Regions from separate parts of the Homo sapiens genome. Here region 1 is linked to region 2. Evidence: promoter capture Hi-C in 16 types of primary human blood cells and fetal thymus (Javierre and others, 2016). All regions are on one chromosome and are shown on one strand. Each heading gives the region's core, a stretch centred on a gene start or on the middle of the fragment in contact. The rest is flanking DNA. Distances are from core to core; before and after follow the strand shown. Region 1 overlaps TOM1L2 (target of myb1 like 2 membrane trafficking protein). Region 2 holds the start of RAI1 (retinoic acid induced 1).

What was found. Contacts are between HindIII fragments. The CHiCAGO score rates a contact against its expected background, and 5 or more counts as called.
Region 1: a contact is called between a fragment that was not itself captured here and the fragment with the promoter of RAI1 in region 2, in 2 of 17 cell types (total CD8 T cells and naive CD4 T cells). The highest score is 6.6, in total CD8 T cells.

Annotation. Positions count from the first base shown.
Region 1 is chr17:17,937,951-17,940,650 of GRCh38, reverse strand. The region is part of intron 1 of TOM1L2 (target of myb1 like 2 membrane trafficking protein); the gene reads left to right. Among named protein-coding and RNA genes, the nearest start is that of TOM1L2, 33 kb to the left of the region's middle. RefSeq lists an enhancer at 1,632-1,721. The HindIII fragment of the contact is 2,943 bases long and covers 1-2,700 here.
Region 2 is chr17:17,680,146-17,682,845 of GRCh38, reverse strand. RAI1 (retinoic acid induced 1) reads right to left here and starts at 1,388. Exons shown (of 6, transcript NM_030665.4): 1 at 1,053-1,388. RefSeq lists silencers at 1-677, 664-836, 848-927, 988-1,127, 1,158-1,667 and an enhancer at 746-1,347. The HindIII fragment of the contact is 10,976 bases long and covers 1-2,700 here.

The DNA.
Region 1 (2,700 bases), core at 63-2,562, 260 kb before region 2:
GGCATTGCTGAGGGTCTTGAGTGCTTTTCTTCCTTCATTCTTTCAGGCTTACCTTATTCCTGCTCTTTGTTCAGGAGTCACAGCTCATTTCTTCCCTGAAAGCCTGACTTCTCCATGCTCTGCACCCACAGGACTCTCTCCTGGCTATGGCATGCCAGAGTCCATCCCTGAGCTGGGTGGGGGCAGTGCTGACTCTGAAATTCAAATTCTCCCTCATATTGGCAGCATGACTTTTTGGACAAGTTATCATACTTTTCTGAGCCTCATCTTCCTCATCTGTAAAATGATTCTAATAGTATTTATTGCATAGGGTTGTATAAAGCTACCAATTATTGATTACTCTTGCTATATGCCAGCCACTCTTATCAGTGCTTGACCCGTATAAGCTCATCTCATCTGAGTAACAACCCTATGCAGCAGAACTCTTCTTCCTTTTTTTTTTTTTTTTTTTTTTTTTTGAGATAGAGTCTTGCTCTGTCGCCCAGCCTGGAATGCAGAGGCGTGATCTCAGCTCACTGCGACCTCCGCCTCCTGGGTTCAAGTGATTCTCATGCTTCAGCCTCTCAGGCAGCTGGGATTACAGGCACCCGCCACCACACCTGGCTAGTTTTTGTATTTTTAGTAGAGATGAGGTTTCACCATGTTGGCCAGGCTGGTCTTGAACTCCTGACCTCAAGTGATCCTCCCGACTTGGCCTCCCAGAGTGCTAGGATTTACAGGCATGAGCCACCACACCTGGCCCAAAGCAGAATTCTTAACACTTCCATTTTATAGATGAGGAAGTAGAGGCTACTACAGAGCCTCCTACATAATGGGGACTCAACAAATGTGTTTATTGAGTTTGAATCTTTCCCTTACTTATACTTTCATTACATTTATAATCTCTGCCCTATGTTTAACTTTTCTCTAAGAATATTGAATGTGTCAATTTTATCTTCAAATTTACTTTTTAAACTTTGTGTTATAGAAAATTTTAAACATGCAAAAGTAGAATAGTATAATGAACTTCTACAAACCCTTTATAGAACTTCAACAATTATCAACTCATGACCTATTAGATTTTGTCAATATGCATACCCTGCCCATATTATTTTGAAGTAAGTCCCCCAAATCATATTATTTCAGCATATATTTCAATATGTATCTCTAAAAGAAAATGACTCATTTTAGAAACAATCACAATACTGTGATTGTACTTTTAAAATGTAATTTCCTATCATGTATCCAACTAGTGTTCAAAATTTTTAGTTGTCTCATAATGTCATATATTTTTTAAGACTGAATAGAATCTGCTAAGGTCTATCACAAGTACAGTGAGGTGACTGTGGGCAGTGGCTGGGCACAGCCCATCTGGGAGGCCTCCCATCAGATGAAAGTTAAGGTTCTTTTCAACTCTAAAAGCCAGCTGCCAACTTTTTGCCTGGTATTCGTCTCAACACCAAAAGTTAGGCACTGTTAGGGAGAGAAAGTCACACTAGAGAGGGCTGGCCTCTCTTTGCAAAGGTTTAATTCAGATGGAAGATACTTCAGTAATGGGTAGAAACAAATTACTTAGAGGCTGTCTGTATATCAAGGTTCTTCATTTTATCCTTTTCATCCCATTACTGAGTAGCTGCATTATAACTTATTGGTGAAACACTTGGGTTCAGAGGTCAGACAGAATGGAATTCTAGTCCAGGTGCCACTGCTTGCTGTGTGTGTGTCTGGGCAAGTCATTTAGCTTCTCTGGGCGGCCCCACCCCAGTGTATAGAAAGTGAGAATTATAAGTTTCGACCTAGACCGGGTGTGGTGGCTAATGCTTATAATCCCAGTACTTTAGGAGGCCAAGGTGGGGCGGTCACTTTAGCAAGACCTCTTTACAAAATATTAAAAAAAAAAAAAAACCCTTTCAACCTTTGCCTCATGGTGAGGATTAAATAAAGTAATGAGTTAAGGCATGTAGGATATTATAAGTCAGTAAAGGTTAGGTAGTATTGGTTTGTGACTATCTGCCTGCTGGGTTGCGTCCCTGTGCATTTATGAGTATGTGGGTAGAAGTGGAATCTGGAGAGATTTGTAACCTCATGCCTATCTTGAGTCTCATTGGCTTTTTCCAGAGCACGTCGTCACTCCATTCTCTAGTGGAGGATTGAGTGGCTCCTGTATTCCTCCCCAGTGCCTCTCCTGGTAGTCATTTATTATATAGAACATCCTAGTCAGAGCGGGACTGTTGTCAGCCTTATGTTACCAGTGAAGAAGGCAGCTTCAGGCCACTGCAGTGAAATCAAAGGCACCAAGGGTCTAAGAGGTAGAAGGAGCTCTCTGGGTTGCTGAGGGCAAGGTCTTAGGCACAGCAGGCACCCCTTCTAGAACGTCCTGCCAGGTGGCTACCCGCCCAGACTTGTATACCTCCAGTAATGGAAAACTCATTATCTCATAGGCAGCACATCCCACGTTGGTCTCTTCTCCAGTTAAATGAAAATGACTTGCTTAATTGGATCTAACTGCCTCCCTCTCATTTCTACCTGTAGTCCTGGGTCCTCTCCTCTTCCCATTGCACCACGCTGGGTGAGAGGGAGTAACACAGAGGGAGGTCTCTGCTCTTGGTGGCATTGTGTTCTGGAGAGAGCCCTCCAAAGCAGAGCCACCGTATGGCAAAATCCCAGTCAAGCCTTTGTGTGGACATCAGTGGAGACCTTTCTGTGAGTGGCAGGAATGGA
Region 2 (2,700 bases), core at 139-2,638:
GCCCGGGCTCCGCGCAGGAGAGCACCGCGGCAGCCCGCACTCCGGCCCCTGCGTGGACTGGATAACGACCAAGAGCCCCAAGAAAGAAAACTGCTAGCCGGGAAAACGGGCGCCCCAGGAAGCTGGGGCCGCGACGGCCTAGGGCCTGGCTGGTGTTTCGCTTCCCCTCCGCCCCACCACGGAGGCCCCTGGCGCGACCAGGCTCCAAATGTCACCCTCGCGTCCTGCCACCCCTTGTCCCCGCCGCACTCGGCCCCCATGTCCTCCTCCCGGGTTCCCTGCCTTCAAGGCGCGTGAGAGGGGGGGCCGGCCTCGAAAAGGGCGGCGGGCTGCGCCGCCGTCTGTGGGGCGCAAGGCTCGCGTGTCCGGGGCCCCCGCCCGTGACGTCATCCCCGAAGGGCCCGTGCCTCCCGGGCCTGGCCGCTACAGAGCTCCCCAGGTCGCGGGGGCCGCTTCCTGCCCGGCCTCGGGGCCTGCGCACAGGCCCCGGGGCCGCTGCCCGGGTAGGGACACCGCAGAGAGCCCGAGCACCCATCTCGCCACGCACGGCCTTCGCCGGCCCTGACTCCCAAGCGATGGCCACGCCGGGCCCGGGTCACGCATGGGGAAGTCAGCTCCCCGTCCCCCACCTCGGACGCACTCACAAAGCTCACCTCCGCCCCCGGCGCCCCGCGAATGCACCCCACGTCCCCACCCCACGCTCCGCAAAGACTCCGCGCCTCGGCGCAAGCAGATCCCTTGCCACACTCGCCCCTCGCGCCCCCATGCCCCCACCCGACCTCAGCTGGCCGCACATCCCCCAGAAGACCCTCAGCCGCGGCGCAGGGCGCCCCCACCCTGCAGCTCCCCAGACGTCCATCCGGTGACCTCGCGCACCCCCCACACCACACAAAGCAAGGACCCCGCGGACCCCACATCTCCACCCAGCGCGCGCGCTCGGCGTCCGAACCCGCCTCGGCTCATCACCCGGCCTAGGATCCCGACGCCTCGCGCCGCCCCCGCCCCGGGGCAGGATACACTGCGCCCCCCGCGCCCCGGCGCTCGCTGCTCACCTCGGCGCCCGCGCTCACTCGGGGGCCTTGGGTCTGGCGCTGCGACTTCGCGGCCCGGAGGCCTGGGTGGCCATGGGGGTCGGGGCGCGGCGGCCCGGCCGGCCCGCGGCCAGGCAGGAAGGAGGGTGGGCCGCGGCGCCCCCTCCTCGCGCCGGCGCTAGGGCCGCGGGCAGGGCGGCCTGCTCGGCTCGCCTCTCGCCCTCGCTGCACTCGCTCTCCCACTCGTCTCTCGGAGCCCAGCCGCGGGCGGGGGCGGCGCCCGGGGACGCGGGGAGCGGGCCTTGGCCGCGCACCCGGCCGGGCCTGCCTGGTGTCCGCGGGTGCCGCGAGGAATGCGATCCCCTCCGCACAGGAAGAGCGGACGAGCGGACGGGCGGGCGGGCGACGCGCGGGGGGAGAAGGAGAGCAAGAGCGCGAGGAAAAAAGTTCCCGGGCGGCCTGGCTGCGCTCGCTCGCGGCCCCGGGCGCCAGGTGGGCCGTGCGCGCCCCGACAGCACCCCCTGGCGGTCCGCGCGCCCCACTGCGCGCCCCCCGCCCGCTGGCCGGCCTGCGGGAGGGGGCCTCTGCGGTGGGATCCCGGTGCGGCCTGGGAGGACACTAGCGCCCTGCGTACAGGAGCTTCCAGCGTCAGGCCAGGCCCCCACCCTCACCCCACCATTAGCCCTCACCTGTGCCCACTTCTTTGCAGTTTGAGAAACATTTTCGATTTCAAAACTCCATTGGCTTCATGTAAACTTCATTTACTGGGCACCTGGCACCTTGCTGAGTCTTGAGGAATCAGCAGAGACAATGCGGTCCCTGCTGTCGTGGAGCTGGCATCCTGGTGGGAAGAGACAGACAGCAAACAAATGCTTAGATACATGACGAAGATAATTTTAGAGCAGTAAGTGCTAGGACGAAAATTAGCAGGTGAAGTGACGGCTAGGGCTCCTTGGCTGGGGGAGAGAGAAGGAGGCCTGTCTGTGCAAAGATCTAAATAGCAAGAGGAACCGCCATGGGTAGAGTCTGGGAAGAGCATTTTGTTCTTTTAGAGGCAGGGTCTTGCTGTGTTGCCCAGGCCGAACTTGAATTCCTGGCCTCAAACAGTCCTCCCACCTCAGCCTTCTGAGTAGCTGGGACTACAGGGGCCTGCCCTCCTGGGAAGAGCATCATTGGCAGAAAGAACATCAAGTGCAAAGGTCCTGAGGCAGGAGAGAACTTGGTGAGTAAGTGGAATTGTGAGGAGGCCGTCAGCAAGGGGACAAGTAATGGGCACATTGAAGTCAGAGCCATATCGGGAGGGCCAGAGCCTGCAGGGCTGCAGAGAGCTCAGTGAGGAATTTGTTTGCAATTCTAGTGCAAGGAAGGTAGCCACTGGCAGACTTTAAACAGAGGCATGTTGAATGAGAGAGTCCTTGCATGAAACTTAAGGTACAGACCTCGGAGCAATTTCATGCCTAGGTCTCTACTTGCCATAGCTCAGGTGGGAGCTCACTGCCACCTGCTTGGGAAGCCTCTCAGCCCCACCCAGGCTCTAGGGTCTGTGGGATATGACCCCATTAACAGCCCCATCGAAGCCTCCCTCATTTGTCCTTTGGTAGGGCAGAGGGGAGCTGGTCAAGGCATCAGAGCTTGTGGGTGACCTGGGACAAGTGAATCCTGCATCTGC